5 separate regions of the Homo sapiens genome follow, and regions 2, 3, 4 and 5 are each linked to region 1. Evidence: promoter capture Hi-C in human tissues and cell types (Jung and others, 2019). All regions are on one chromosome and are shown on one strand. Each heading gives the region's core, a stretch centred on a gene start or on the middle of the fragment in contact. The rest is flanking DNA. Distances are from core to core; before and after follow the strand shown. Region 1 holds the start of CCDC146 (coiled-coil domain containing 146). Region 2 holds the start of HSPB1 (heat shock protein family B (small) member 1). Region 3 overlaps YWHAG (tyrosine 3-monooxygenase/tryptophan 5-monooxygenase activation protein gamma). Region 4 overlaps LINC03009 (long intergenic non-protein coding RNA 3009). Region 5 overlaps APTR (Alu-mediated CDKN1A/p21 transcriptional regulator).

Region 1 (2,821 bases), core at 149-2,648:
AATTTCTTTTCAAAGTTACACCTGTCAATTTTCATAAAAAATAGTTTGAAGATTATTCTGAATAATTATAACCAATGAAACACAAAGACAAGAAAAGAACTATTGCAGTGGGCCCTTGCTGAACCTGAGCTAGCACCTATAATGAGTGAGTCTTCACCGAAAGAAGAATAAGGAGGGAGCAAGGACTAGAAGGACAGAAAAGAGGCAATGATAACTTAAGAGAACACTGAATTTTTAAAAATTTTAAAAAGGTAGTGGCTAGCAGAGAACCTGAGACTTGTACCCATGAGAACTTTAGCCCAGTCTATCTATCACGATAGCCCCAAGAATTCTGGTCATTGTACTTGGGTAAGGGCTTCAATTTTTTAAGGCACTTGCATTTTATGAAATGTTAGTGTTTGCAGGTGTCTTGGCTAAATAATTTAGGGAATACATTTTAGGAGGAAGTAGGGGCACAGAGGGGGAGAGAGAAACCAGGCAGGAAAGAAGAAAAAAAGAAGAAAATAAATCTTTCTGTTCCCATTATTTTACTGCCCATAGAATTATAAAAGGTAAACACACACACACACACACACACACACACACACACACACACACACACACACACACCTTATAGGGTCATTTAGAACCATCTTTCTTCATTTTAAAACTAAAGAAACAGGTCTAGGTGACACAGATGAAGCAGTGGCAGAGCCAGGAAAATAATCTGACCCTTGTCCCTGCTCTTTCCACCGCACCATGGTGACTCTCTTTTTTGTGTCTTTTTTTTTTTCACTCTAAAACTGATGATCATTTGTAGTCAAAGAGATCAATGCTATTCTCAAAACAAGTTCTGATCTCTCATAATTTTCTTGGTAACTCAGAATCAATGTTAAGTACGTTGAAATAAAAATACAGTACTTTACACGGTAATTTGGTAGACTGTGCACCACGGTCCCATCCATTTTCTTACTTGATCCTCACAAAAACCCTTTGAGGCAAGGCAAGGAAGGTATTATCATCTACATTTTTAAAGTGAGCAAATTAAAACCCAAAGTAAGGTCACTTAGGGTCAGGACGGAGCAAGTACTCTATTCCTATATTTGGAATATAGGAGGGAATACACTTCCAAAGAGGCAATTCCCTCAAAAAGCACCAATCTTGCTCTTTACTCTCTTACCAAGGCATTCTCCATGCCCTGGAGATGCCCGCACTAGGTTAGTGAAGCTTGGATCTTGACATCCACATAGGTTACTCCTAGTTTGCACCTAGTTGTCAACTTAAAAAGCGCAGTTTCTTACCCCTTCCCTTGGTCCTGATCCTTATTTAGGCTCCTATTTTTCTCTTTGGGATTTGGCCTCCTGGGTCTCACTCCAAAGCTCCACCCTCTCCAAACAAGAAGTCGCGTCCTTGGTATCCAAGGTGACCATGCAGCTTTACCCTCGTTGCCCCCTTCCGTGCTTCCCATTGGCCAGTGGCCTCCCATGTACCGCCCCTCCAATAGCCAATGGTCTTGAAACAAAGGGCGCCCGCCTTTCCAGCGATTCTAACACCTGCCCTCTTACCCGTGCTCCCCTGCGCATTGCCTCCTGGGATATGTGGTTTCTAAGAGGCGGAGCTCTGCGACTTTCCACCGCTTTAGAACTACGTATCCCGTCGGCCTTAGCGAAAGGGGGTGGACTTAGGCAAGGGGTCCAGGTCAGAGTTCAGAGCTTTCAAATCCCAACTTGCCCCTGGGGATTACGCAGCTGATGTTTACATCGCCTAGTCAAGCCAACCGGCTCGCTCTTGTTTCAGCAAACCCTGACTTACGTCTCCTATTTGACTTGAGGCGGCACAGTGGCCAAGTCGATTGGCCGTGGCAAGTGACCCTCCCTGTGGCTGAAGTGTTCTGAGGACTGGCGAGAGAGGCGCGCCATGCTTGCCCCCTGTTCAGGTTGGGAGCTTGGCTGCTTCCGTCTCTGTCTCCGTCAGGTCCGACTGTGGGCTGGCGCTGGGCGCTGGTCTTGCTGGGCTTGCCAAGCCAGGCCGTACAGCTCAGGTAGGGGCGAGCGCTGGCCCGGATCGGAGACTGAGGTCCCTCCGCCTGGCCCGGCGCGCCGAACTCTGAAGGAGTGGACACTGCAGGTGAGCCCGTTCGGTCGGCTGCGGGCGCGGCTCCCGTGCCACCTGGCCGTGAGGCCCCTGGACCCCCTCACCTACCCGGATGGCGACCGCGTGCTGGTCGCGGTGTGCGGCGTGGAGGGCGGCGTGCGGGGCCTGGACGGCCTGCAGGTGAAGTACGACGAGGATCTGGAGGAGATGGCCATTGTGTCTGATACTATCCACCCCCAGGCGTCCGTGGAGGTGAACGCGCCCCTGAAGTTTGGCAAGTGAAGTGAAGTGAAAACGGGTTTGGGTCCCAGGGAACGCACAGTGAACTTAATAAATTTGGTCGACGTGCACTTTTAATTGGTCCTGGCTTTCTAAACCTAATTTACAGTTGGCCCCTTCGGAAATGCAACTTTTCCTCTGTTCTATTCTTGAGTATCCGAGTAGTATTTAAAAAATTAGGTTCCCAATTATAGAAATTTTATACATCGAATGGAAACACGATTTGGTATAATCCAGGTCAAATTCTATTTCTGGAGCCGCTTGTGTTCTTCTTTATCCCGTTGTCATTAGCAAACTGGCTTATTTTTCAAGGTTGAAGTTTCTTGACAATTCATTCAATGGTATGGCAGTCCATCTACATTTCCCCTTGCTCACAGCCTGGGGGTGTGTCCCAAAACAGCCCTGTCAATAGGATGTTCCAGGTACCACCTGGTTTGAGTATTTGGTTTTAGACGGGCGCCCAGCTTCT
Region 2 (2,821 bases), core at 1-2,500, 820 kb after region 1:
CTTCCCTGACCCCACCCCCACGCCACCCACCCACCCCGACCTGGCGCCAGGACTCACGTGTATTTCCGCGTGAAGCACCGGGAGATGTAGCCATGCTCGTCCTGCCGCTCCTCGTGCTTGCCTTTGGGGGGAAGAGGGAAATCAGACTGCGGGGGAGGGGACTGCCTTTCGGCCCCGCTAGGCCAGAGGCCCCACCTCCTGCTTGGAAGCAGCCAGGACTGCAGGCTGGTAGGGATTAACAGAGGGGGTTGGGGATGGGGGCGTGCCCGCCGGTCTGGGCTCTCAGAAACTTCCGGAAAGTTCTTCGATTCAGAGTTTTGGGAGGAACGGAGCAGGGCGCGGAGCTGGGGAGTGAGCAGTACGCAGGCGCACTTGGAGCCGCGCACACGCCCACTCAGCGGCTAGAAACTGGCACCGCGCCAGGGAACTCCCCGCTTATCTGGGGATGGGGCTGTGGGTGGGAAGGGGACTCTGTAGAAAAGCGCATTTTCTCTCTTCATCGATGATCTTTAAAAAAATTTTTGTTTGCTTTTTTTTTGTAATGGCGCGGGGTCGGGGCGGGGGGGCGCGTCTCGCTATGTTGCCCAGGCTAGTCTTGAACTCCTGGCCTCAAGCGATCCTCCCGTCTCGGCCTCCCAAAGCGCTGGGATTACAGAGCAGAAAGCGCCCTTAGAAGCGACCCGCACTCCCAATTCCTGAGCAAGGGAATCAGGAGTCCTGTTTTTCCCGGTGCTGGGCCAACGTTTAACTCCCCAGGCCCCCGGGACCCCCGTTTCAACCGCACGCCCCCGGCCCTGCCCGCCCTGCTAGCCTCCTCCTCTCCCCTGCAGGAGCAGGGGGGCTCACCGGTGATCTCCACCACGCCATCCTTGGTCTTGACCGTCAGCTCGTCCGGGGCGAAGTGGTTGACATCCAGGGACACGCGCCAGCGGTCCGCAGTGTGCCGGATCTCCGAGACCCCGCTGCTGAGTTGCCGGCTGAGCGCGCGGCTGTAGGCGGGCGCGGCCACTGCGGGGCTCTCGATGGCGGCGGGGGGCAGGGGGCGCACGTAGCCTGGCCAGCTGCTGCCGCCTAACCACTGCGACCACTCCTCCGGCAGCCGGGGCAGCCCGAAGGCCTGGTCGAAGAGGCGGCTATGCGGGTACCAGTCGCGGAAGGGGTCCCAGCTGGGGCCCCGCAGGAGCGAGAAGGGGACGCGGCGCTCGGTCATGCTGGCTGACTCTGCTCTGGACGTCTGCTCAGAAAAGTGCGGGGCGCTGGGCTCGGCTGCGCTTTTATGCTCCTCCAGTCGGGTATTTTTAGCAGGCGGTGTTTGAGGTCTCTATTAATGGCAATGACCCGTTTGAGGGCCGCCCCTCCCCATGCACTCCTCCCCCAGCGTTCAGGGGCCGTGGGCGGGGCGAAGAGGGTTCAGCCCTCATCTGGAACCTTCTCTCGTTAAGGAAAGCAAATGAATTCGAGAGCGCGACGCTGGAGCCGTGCCACGGCAGGGCACTCGCCGGCCCTGGTGCTTAAGCGTTGCTGGCTGTGGCCCGTGGCCAGGGCCGTCCTTCTGTTAAGGAGGACAGAGCCAGACAGGTTGGGTTGGGGCATACAACTGAGAAGTGGCAGAGGCAGGATTGGAACCACACGCGTGTGAGATAGAATGTGATAAAAGGAGTCTGGTGCTTGAGCCCAGGAGTTGAGGCTGCAGTGAGCTATGATCTCACCACTGCACTCCAGCCTAGGCAACAGATCAAAGTCTTGTCTCTCAAAAAAATTTTAAAAAGGGGCTGGGTGCATGGCTCATGCCTGTAATCTCAGCACTTTGGGAGGCCAAGGCAGAAGGGTCCCTTGAGGCTAGGAGTTTGAGACCAGTCTGGGCAACATAGTGAGACCCTACTTCTACCAAAAAATATTTAAAAATTAGCTGGGCATGGTGGTGCATGCCTGTGGCCCCAGCTACTCCAGAGGCTGAAGCAGGAGGATCCTTTGAACCCCGGTGAGTAGAGGCTGTGGTGAGCTGGATTGCACCACTGCACTTCAGCCTGGGCTACAGAGCAAAACCCTGTCTCAAAATAAGTAAATGAATAAATACAAATACAAAAATAAAGCAGTCTGGGCTGGGCGTGGTGGCTCACGCCTGTAATCCCAGCACTTTGGGAGACCGAGGTGGGAGGATCACCAGAGGTCAGGAGTTTGAGACCAGCCTGGCCAACATGGTGAAACCCCATCTCTACTAAAAATACAAAAATTAGCTGGGTGTGGTGGCGGGCGCCTGTAATCGCAGCTGCTGGGGAGGCTGAGGCAGGAGAATTGCTTGAACCCAGAAGGCAGAGGTTGCAGTGAGCCGAGATCTCACCACTGTACTCCAGCCTGGGTGACAGAGTGAGACTCCATCTCAAAAAAAAAAAAAGAAAAAAGAAAAAAGCAATCTAGTAATCTGGTGTGGTTGTTAGGCGTGTGGACTTTGAAGCCAGACTGCCTGAATTCACATCTTTGTTCCATCACTAAGCAGATGAACTTGTGCAAGTTAGATTCTTTGTGCCTCAGTTTCCCCATCTGGAAAATAGAGATGATAATGATGGTAACAGTCATGCATTGCATAAAGATGTGTAAGTCAGCAAGGGACAGCAAATATGAAGGTGGTCCCATAAAATTATATTACTGGCTGGGTGCAGTGGCTGACATCTGTAATCTTAGCACTTTGGGAGGCTGATGTGGGAGGATTACTTGAAGCCAGAAGGCTGGAACAAGCCTGGGCAACACAGTGAGACCCCATCTCTACTAAAATTCAGAACAAATTAGCCAGGCATGGTGGCGTGGACCTGTAGTCCCAGAT
Region 3 (2,821 bases), core at 98-2,597, 780 kb after region 1:
ATTGATGTCATTCAGCACACTTTCAGAAGTGACTGTTGAGTTAAGGTACCACCATGATTCATGGGTGATGCTGATTCATATGGCCAAGCCCAGATTCTAGGGGTGGAGTATGAGCGTTATATTAATGTGAAGAAGCAGAGAGAGGTGTGATGGGAAGAGTCTGAGTCTGGTGGCTGGGGTATCGAGAACTCACAGCAGGGTTCTTCTGCTTCCACAATATGTGCATTCGGAGCAGATGATCCTTTGCTAATGTGGAGGCCATCCTGTGCATTGTAGGGTGTTCAGCAGCATCCCTGGCCTCCACCCAGTAGATACCTTAATAAAGCTGATTTTTAAAAACGGCTGCAGTACACCATAGTTTACAACAGCTTTTACACATAACAACCTAATTTTTTTTCTTGAGATGGAGTCTTGCTCTGTCACCCAGGCTGGAGTGCAATGGTGCAATCTTGGCTCACTGCAACCTCTGTCTCCTGGTTTCAAGCGATTCTCCTACCTCACCCTCTCAAGTAGCTGGGATTACAGGCGCCTGCCACCACACCCAGCTAATTTTTGTATTTTTAGTAGAGACGGGGCTTCATGATGTTGGCTAGGCTGGTCTCGAATTCCTGACCTCAGGTGATCCTCCTGCCTCGGCCTCCCAAAGTGGTGGGATTACAGGTGTGAGCCACTGTGCCCGGCTGGTTAATTTTTTTTAACAGTTTAATTTTTTGGTGGGAAAGTCCTCTCTCCCCGCCACTTCCAAGTCAGATCTATGATAAAACTAGTAATTAATTAGAAATAGTCACTAGTTTGTTTGATGAGTTCAGAAAGTAGCCCAGCGGAGGTTCGAAGCCTGATATACTAAATAGCAGGCTGAAAGGTATTGATAAGCAGGAGCGCATTTAGGGGAAGATTGGGACAGGGATGGAAACAGTGAGTAAAGTTAGAGAAGACTCTAGGATATGAGAACCAGTCTCGCCAGTTTCAAAAATGCATTCTGGCCCCCAAGAGAGAAAGATCTTAAGGCCAGCGAATGGCAGTTGTAGGGAAATAAGCAGCCTTGATATGAAGAAGTCAAGTACTTGTTAACCTCTGAAGGTGGAATTCAACCAAGTTCTCACAGGAGTGTGCAACATAGGGTCAGAGACCGTCCTTCACCCAGCAGGGTTTGTAAGAAGGAAGGGAGTGCTGGTTTGGGGAGGAAGGTGTGGATTATCTGCATTTCAGAGTGAGTTCTCTTAGTGTGTTTCTTCTTTGACTTTTTCCTCCGTATTGGTGGGATCGAATGCTTCATAATGACAGATACCCATGGCAGGACATGTACATTTCCTGTCCTTTTTCATCTTTCTTTTATGATAGCTGTGCATAAATCTAAACAAGCCCTTTCGTTCACCTTTTTGGAGAGGATATTGAGAAATATAACCTGCACTACATTACTAGATGTTGGTAGGAGGTCACAAGAGGAGGATTAAATGTAAGAGCCAGAGGTCTGTGCTCCATTACAGTGAGTTTTCTGTGTGTAAGTCCATGTATTAAGAAGCATCAAGTATTTCGAATTTTATATTTCAAACAAGTGAGCTGATGATGTTTGATTGCTGGTGTGTGTGAGAGTGCTATATAAACTGTCGTATAGTGCAGCAATTTTTCAGTAGCTTTGTTGAGATATAGTTTACATACCATGCGATTCACCCATTTAAAGTGTGCAATTTAATGGTTTTCAGTATGTTCAGACTTGCATAACCATCACCACATTCTAGAACATGCCATCAACCCAAAAAGAAACCCCATATTGGCAGTCATTCCCCATCACCTCCCCTCCCAACCCAGCCCTAAGTAACCACTAATCTGCTTTCTATTTCTATGGATTTGCCTATTCTGGACATATTATGTAACTGGAATCAAACAATATGCGGTCTTTTGGACTGGCTGCTTCCATTTAGCAAAATGTTTTCGAGATCATCGGTGTAGCATGTTATCAGTGCATCATTTGTCTGTCTAAATAATATTCCATTACATAGATCACACTACGTTTTGTTCAGCCGTTCCTCATTTGATGTACATTTGCATTGTTTCCACCTTTTGGCTCTTAGGACTAACGTTGCTGTGAACATTACAAGATTTCTCTTTTTTTTTTTTTTTTTTTTTTTTTTGAGGCAAGAGTCTTGTCCTGTCACCCAGGCTGGAGTGCAGTGGCGCCACCTCAGCTCACTACAGCCTCCGCCTCCTGGGTTCAAGTGATTCTCGTGTCTCAGCCTCCTGAGTAGCTGGGATTACAGGTGCGAGCCACCATGCCCGGCTCATTTTTGTATTTTTAGTTATTTTTAGTTAGAGATGGGGTTTCACCATGTTGCCCAGGCTGGTCTCAAACTCCTGACCTCAAGTGATCTGCCAGCTTCAGCCTCCTAAAGTGCTGGGATTACAGGCATGAGCCAACCCTCCCAGCCCCTGTACAAGATTCTGTATGGGCCAGGTGCGGTGGCTTCCCCTGCACTTTAGGGGGCTGGGGAGGGGCGGGAGGATCACTTTGGTGGCACATGCCTGTAGTCCCAGCTACTTGGGAGGCTAGGCTCAGGCAGAAGGATTGCTTGAGCCCGAGGCTGCAGTGGGCCCTGATCATACTACTGCACTCCAGCCTGGGTGACAGAGTGAGATCCTGTCTCAAAAAAAAGAATTTTGTATGGACTTATGTTTTTATTTCTCTTGTGTATATCTGGGAGTGGAATTGCTGAGTCATAATGCTGCTAACAAAACATTTTGAGAAACTGCTACAATTCTTAACCTAGAGAAATAGATATGCATGGTTCCCATCTGAACTGGCAAGGGGTAGGGCTGCTTGAGG
Region 4 (2,821 bases), core at 217-2,716, 570 kb after region 1:
TAATTTTCTATATGCTTAAGAGCTTTCCTCCTAAGATATATATGTATTATTCTACATTTTCTTCAATTTTGTTTATAATTTTTCTTTAACACATTTTCCCATTTTTTTTCTAATTATACTGGCAATTTTATAACACCTTTTATTTTAGGAATGAGATGTGGAAATGAATAAATGATAGCAATGAACCTTTAGACATTTCTTACAATGTGCCAGGTGCTGTTCTAAGGCCTTTACTTGTACTAACTGATTTAAGGTTTATAACAACCCTAAGAGGTAGGTGCTATAATTTGCCTCATTTCACGGATGAGGAAACTGGTGTATAGGAAGGTTTAGTAACTTTCCCAAGGTCAAAAGACTGGTGAATTTTCATCCCGTATTCAAACCCAGGAAGTCTGGCTCCCAAGTCACTACATTATATGCTACTGTCTGGTAAGCTATTAAATTATGCCCAAGTATGGGAAGTTATGCTGAAATTGATATTTCAACTGATCTTCAACTGTGTATTGAGAAATAAATAGAACTGTGATGAAAGGAAGTGGAAATAAGAGCCTATACCATAACACGGCACTGTAAGTTGGTGATATTTTCTAGATATGGAGAAAAGATCATTGTCACAGGTGTATCAGATACATGGGGTGGAGACTGGGAGCTGAGATAAAAAAGGAAGGTTTTCAGTAATGGGTTTGGTCAGGATTTTACCCTGAATGAGAAAGTAACAGTTTGACTGTTGTTGGAGTACAGTGTAGAAGTTAAGAACAGAATTCTGACTCTATTATGATCTAGCTCTCCAAAATCAGAATCTAACCTTTGGTAGAGTCATCTCATAAATCAAAATAAAAATCAAGGTTGGTTTAAAGATTTAAATATTATAATGAATGTTCAGCATTTAGCTAGTCTGGTCAAGTGATAGGCAGTACTCTCAACTGCCATTATTACTAGTCAAAGCAAGATTTGGTGAGACAGTGGACAATCTAGTCAGACAGATGAAAAAAAAAACCTTTAAGTGGTAGTAGGCACAGGTTTTGACTATCAGGCAAATTCAGAGAAGGAGAAAAAAAAATAAGGATAACACTGATACTTTGAGGTTTCGAGACTATGTACTTAATGATGTAAACTGGGGGTCAAAATGAAGAAGAAGGAAGAAATTGAAGGACAAAGTGGGCTGGGCATAGTGGCTCATGCCTGTAATCCCAGCACTTTGGGAGGCCAAGGTGGGCAGATCACCTGAGGTCAGGAGTTCGAGACCAGACTGGGCAACATGGTGAAACCCTGTCTCTACTAAAAATACACACACAAAATAAAATTAACCAGGCGTGGTGGTAGTAGCCTGTAATCCCAGCTACTCAGGAGGCTGAGGCAGGAGAATCGCTTGAACCAGGAAGGCAGAGTTTGCAGTGAGCCGAGATCGCACCACTGCATTCCAGCCTGGTTGACAGAGCAAGACTGCGTCTCAAAAATAAATAAATAAATACATAAATAAATAAAATATTAAAAAGAACAAAAGTGCTCACTTTATTTTTAGAAACATCAAAGTGAGATACTTCAAGTCTAGCTATGAAGATATAGAATATATGTGTATGTATAGAAGTCTCTCTATATTCTGATTATCCCAATATTAACAAGACATAATAAAATCAGTTTATAAAATATTATATCTACTAAAATATCTGTTAATCAATATCACCATGTTTTACCAGTAGAATAAAAAATTATAAAGTACATAACATTGACTCTGAGAAACTGTAATAGCTTAAAGTGCCTTCTGGATCCCCAGAGATTAAATTATATAGAGTATTATTTTACTGTTTAATGTATTTTATTGCATTCTAATTATATAAATGTATGTAAACCACAAAAGCTATGAGTATGAAGAAAATGCATTCTGGTTTCTGGAACAGTCTCAATTTTAAGATTATTTATCTGTTTAGTAAGCTGTGTATTTAAAAATAATAACATTTATTGAGTTCATCCACTGACTGTCAAGTATCTCTGTGTGTCCACAGCATAGGCAATGTTACACAGAGCTGGTGATAGCAGGAGACGGATCTGCAGTGACAAGCAAGGGTAGCTTCATCAAGGCAACACCCATTTCTTGAAACAATGGCTGTCTCCAAACAAAGTCTCCACTGCTCTGTGTTTGCCTCTGAAAACTATCTAGCTGATTATGCAAAAATGCCCTACTCTTTTGCTATGCTAGGTTAAATTAAATTTATTATGTTGTTATGTTTCCATTTTTATTATTTCTGAATACTGATACAGTGTTTTTAGAAGCCAGATTAGAGTTTTTCAAATTAGAGTTTCAAAATGTTCTCCTAACCCGAGGAAATTAATTTTATGAGCGACTTAAGCATCTACACTCTAAAAAGACACCTGCTTTCTCATGGTAAATATATGACTTTAGGATAATTTAAAGAGCCTTTGAAAAGTTAAAAAAGATCAGCAAAATCTACTAATAAAAACAGACAAGATGCTCAGGGGATTCAAAGTAGGTTAAGCTATCAAAATATAAATGCCATTTGAGAGGGATTCTGGCACTAAATTTAGGATTTTAGCATTTTGACACTGATAAATCTTGCTGCAGGGTTCCTAAATCTGATGAGAACACGTGGTAGTGATGCCCAAATGCCTGAATTAAAATATAGTTTGATATTTCAGTTATTAGATTAAAATCAGAAACCTTTAAACACACAGTAATTTATGTAGGATCCTTTTTGTGGGAGACTTCTAAAGCAGAGATTGACTCAGTTTGACTCTGGAAAGCTTCTAAATTGAAGACTTTAAGTGTATATGCCTTGGCCATATGATGCAATTTTATTCCATA
Region 5 (2,821 bases), core at 163-2,662, 560 kb before region 1:
AGACTTTGATTTTATTCTTGAGATTGATGAGATGTGTGTAATCCAGGAGTGTGCAAAACAATCTGTAAGGGTTCAGAAAACATACTGCTTCTATATATAGTTACCTTTGTCTTAACTTGAAAATTTCAAATTGTGTAGGAGTTACAATGTGTGTAATTGTTATTATAGTACTGGATCCAAATAATTTATAAATAAATAAATATAGACATAATATGGTGTATTACAGGTTAAATTGTGTACCTCAAAAATTCATGTTTAAGTTCTAACCCTCATTATCTCAAACTGTGACCTTATTTGGAAATACTATCATTGCAGATGCAATAGTTAATGAGGTCAAGTTAAGAAGCAATAGGAGGCCAGGCATGGTGGCTCACACCTGTAATCGCAGCACTCTGGGGAGGCCAAGGTGGGTGGATCACCTGAAGTCAGGAGATCAAGAGCAACCTGGGCAACATGGTGAAACTCCGTCTCTACTAAAAATACACAAATTAGGCTGGGCTTGATGTCTCACACCTGTAATCCCAGCACTTTGGGAGGCCAAGGCGGGCGGATCACCTGAGGTCAGGAGTTCGAGACCAGCCTGGCCAACATAGTGAAACCCCATCTCTACTAAAAATACAAAAATTATTTTGTATTTTGGTGGCGGACACCTGTAAGTAATCCCAGCTACTCGGGAGGGTGAGGCAGGAGAATCGCTTAAACCTGGGAGGTGGAGTTTGCAGTGAACCAAGATCACACCACTGCACTCCAGCTTAGGAGACAGGGCTAGACTCTGTCTCAAACAAACAAGCAAACAAACAAAAGAAAGAAGAAAAGAAGGAGCGAAAAGGTGGGCCCCCAATCCCTAATCCAGTATGACTAATGTCCTTCCAAGAACAGAAAATTTGAACAGAGACACACAAACGGGAAGAATACCTATGCCTTTTGAAGGTAAAGGCGGACATTGGGGTAATGCTTTTACAAGCCAAGGAACTCCGAAGGTAGCCAGCAAACTGTCAGAAGCTAGGCGAGGGTCCTGGGACAGATTCTCCTCACAGCCCTCAGAAGGAATCAGTCCCGCTGACACCTTGATCTTGGACTTGTAGCCTCAGGAACTGTGAGGCAAATGTCTGTTGTTTAAACTATCCAGTTTGTGATACTTTGTTACAGCAGCCCTAGCAAATTGAGCTACTTGGTCAAAAACTTCAGGCAACACTGATGAGATGATGTAAAGGCTTTAAAGAGTTGGTTTATGTTTAAGAGTCCAAATTATCAACGTCCTATCTTTACTCAGTCTCTGTATTCAAGAATTGACCTTAGGCCAGGTGCAGTAGTTCACGCCTGTAATCCCAATACTTTGGGATGCCAAGGTAGGAGGATTGCTTGAGGTCAGGAGTTTGAGATCAGCCCTTGTATATTAGTTCGTTCTCATGCTGCTGATAAAGACATACCCAAGACTGGGTAATTTATAAGGAAAAAGAGGTTTAATGGACTCACGGTTCCATGTGGCTGGAGAGGCCTCAATCATGGCGGAAGGTGAAAGGCATGTCTTAGGTGGCGGCAGACAAAAGAGAAATGAGAGCCAAGTGAGAAGGGAAACCCCTTATAAAATCATCAGATCTCGTGAGACTTATTCACTACCATGAGAACAGTATGGGGAAAGCGTCCCCATGATTCAGTTCCCACCGGGTCCCTCCCACCACATGTGGGAGTTCTGGGAGCTACAATTGAAGATGAGATTTGAGTGGGGACAAAGCCAAACCATATCACCTTTTCTCTACTAAAAATTAAAATTAATTAAAAAATTAAGCTGGCATGGTACTATATGTCTGTAGTCCTAGCTACTTGGGATGCCGAGGTGGGAGGATTGCTTGAGCCCACGAGGTTGAGGCTGCAGTGAGTCATGATCATGCCACTGCACTCCAGCCTGGACAACAGAGCAAGGCCCTGATGCAAAAAACAAAAAATAATAATTTAACTTAAAGTGATGTCTTGATTGCAGTGTTTATTCTACTTTTTAAAGCCATTGTGGTGGGAAAACAATTTGTTTACATTTGTAGTACAGTTTATGTTAAAGGTTGAAGAAATTGGGAAATATTTTATCTTTAACTCAAGACAGGATGGTGATATGCAACAGTTATAGGCAAAAAATATTTACATTTAAGAAAAAAAGTATCATTTAATCCCATTAGGCAGAAGTGGAGTCAAAAGCAAAAATATGGCTGGTTATGGATGTATGTTTCCCTTCCTGTTCATATGTTGAAACCTAATTCCCAATGTGATGGGTTTTGGAGATGGGGTCTTTGGGAGGTAATAGGTCATGAGAGTGGAACCCTCGTGGATGGGATTAGTGCCATATAAGAAGAGTCCATAGAGCTAGCTCACTCCCTTTCTGCCATGTGAGGATACAAGAAGTCGGCCTGGAAAAGAGCCCTCACCAGAACCCTACAATGGCACTCTGATCTTGGACATTCGGCCTCCGGAGCTGTGAGAAATAAATTGTCTTTAAGCTATCCAGTTTATGGTACTTTATTACACCAGCCCAAACTGACTGAAGATGGGGTCCTACCAAGCGAAATCATAGCTGTGAACAGTGTAATAGTATCTCATCAGCATGGGGAGGGCTATAGGCAAAACATGCACTAGTCTAGCTACTTAATCTTCAAGTATTAAGGACAACCTGTCCTTTTTATACAAGTCATACATTAGACATGTGCCTGAGATTACAAAACACTGTGATCGAGTTTTCAAGGCTAGGGATACACCTCAAACTCAGATGTACTTCTTTGGTGCCTATTTGTAAGTCAGCAAAATCCAGAACTCAGCAATATGTTAATTAATG

The links. Contacts are between HindIII fragments. The study calls those that stand out against the background at their distance.
Region 2: a contact is called between the fragment with the promoter of HSPB1 here and the fragment with the promoter of CCDC146 in region 1, in 1 of the 25 tissues and cell types used here (adrenal gland).
Region 3: a fragment that was not itself captured here is called in contact with the fragment with the promoter of CCDC146 in region 1 in 1 of the 25 tissues and cell types used here (hippocampus).
Region 4: a contact is called between a fragment that was not itself captured here and the fragment with the promoter of CCDC146 in region 1, in 1 of the 25 tissues and cell types used here (dorsolateral prefrontal cortex).
Region 5: a contact is called between a fragment that was not itself captured here and the fragment with the promoter of CCDC146 in region 1, in 1 of the 25 tissues and cell types used here (hippocampus).

What each region holds. Positions count from the first base shown.
Region 1 is chr7:77,121,192-77,124,012 of GRCh38, reverse strand. CCDC146 (coiled-coil domain containing 146) reads right to left here and starts at 1,398. Exons shown (of 19, transcript NM_020879.3): 1 at 1,281-1,398. It also overlaps the pseudogene FAM185BP. RefSeq lists a silencer at 1,613-1,712 and enhancers at 1,608-2,107, 2,108-2,609. The HindIII fragment of the contact is 9,649 bases long and covers 217-2,821 here.
Region 2 is chr7:76,301,102-76,303,922 of GRCh38, reverse strand. HSPB1 (heat shock protein family B (small) member 1) reads right to left here and starts at 1,250. Exons shown (of 3, transcript NM_001540.5): 1 at 847-1,250; 2 at 58-121. The coding sequence starts at 1,210. The HindIII fragment of the contact is 16,042 bases long and covers 1-2,821 here.
Region 3 is chr7:76,340,716-76,343,536 of GRCh38, reverse strand. All of the region lies in intron 1 of YWHAG (tyrosine 3-monooxygenase/tryptophan 5-monooxygenase activation protein gamma), which reads left to right. Among named protein-coding and RNA genes, the nearest start is that of YWHAG, 17 kb to the left of the region's middle. The HindIII fragment of the contact is 7,858 bases long and covers 1-2,821 here.
Region 4 is chr7:76,553,199-76,556,019 of GRCh38, reverse strand. The region is part of intron 2 of LINC03009 (long intergenic non-protein coding RNA 3009); the gene reads right to left. Among named protein-coding and RNA genes, the nearest start is that of LINC03009, 5.3 kb to the right of the region's middle. The HindIII fragment of the contact is 3,853 bases long and covers 1-2,821 here.
Region 5 is chr7:77,681,241-77,684,061 of GRCh38, reverse strand. All of the region lies in intron 1 of APTR (Alu-mediated CDKN1A/p21 transcriptional regulator), which reads left to right. Among named protein-coding and RNA genes, the nearest start is that of APTR, 14 kb to the left of the region's middle. The HindIII fragment of the contact is 5,959 bases long and covers 1-2,821 here.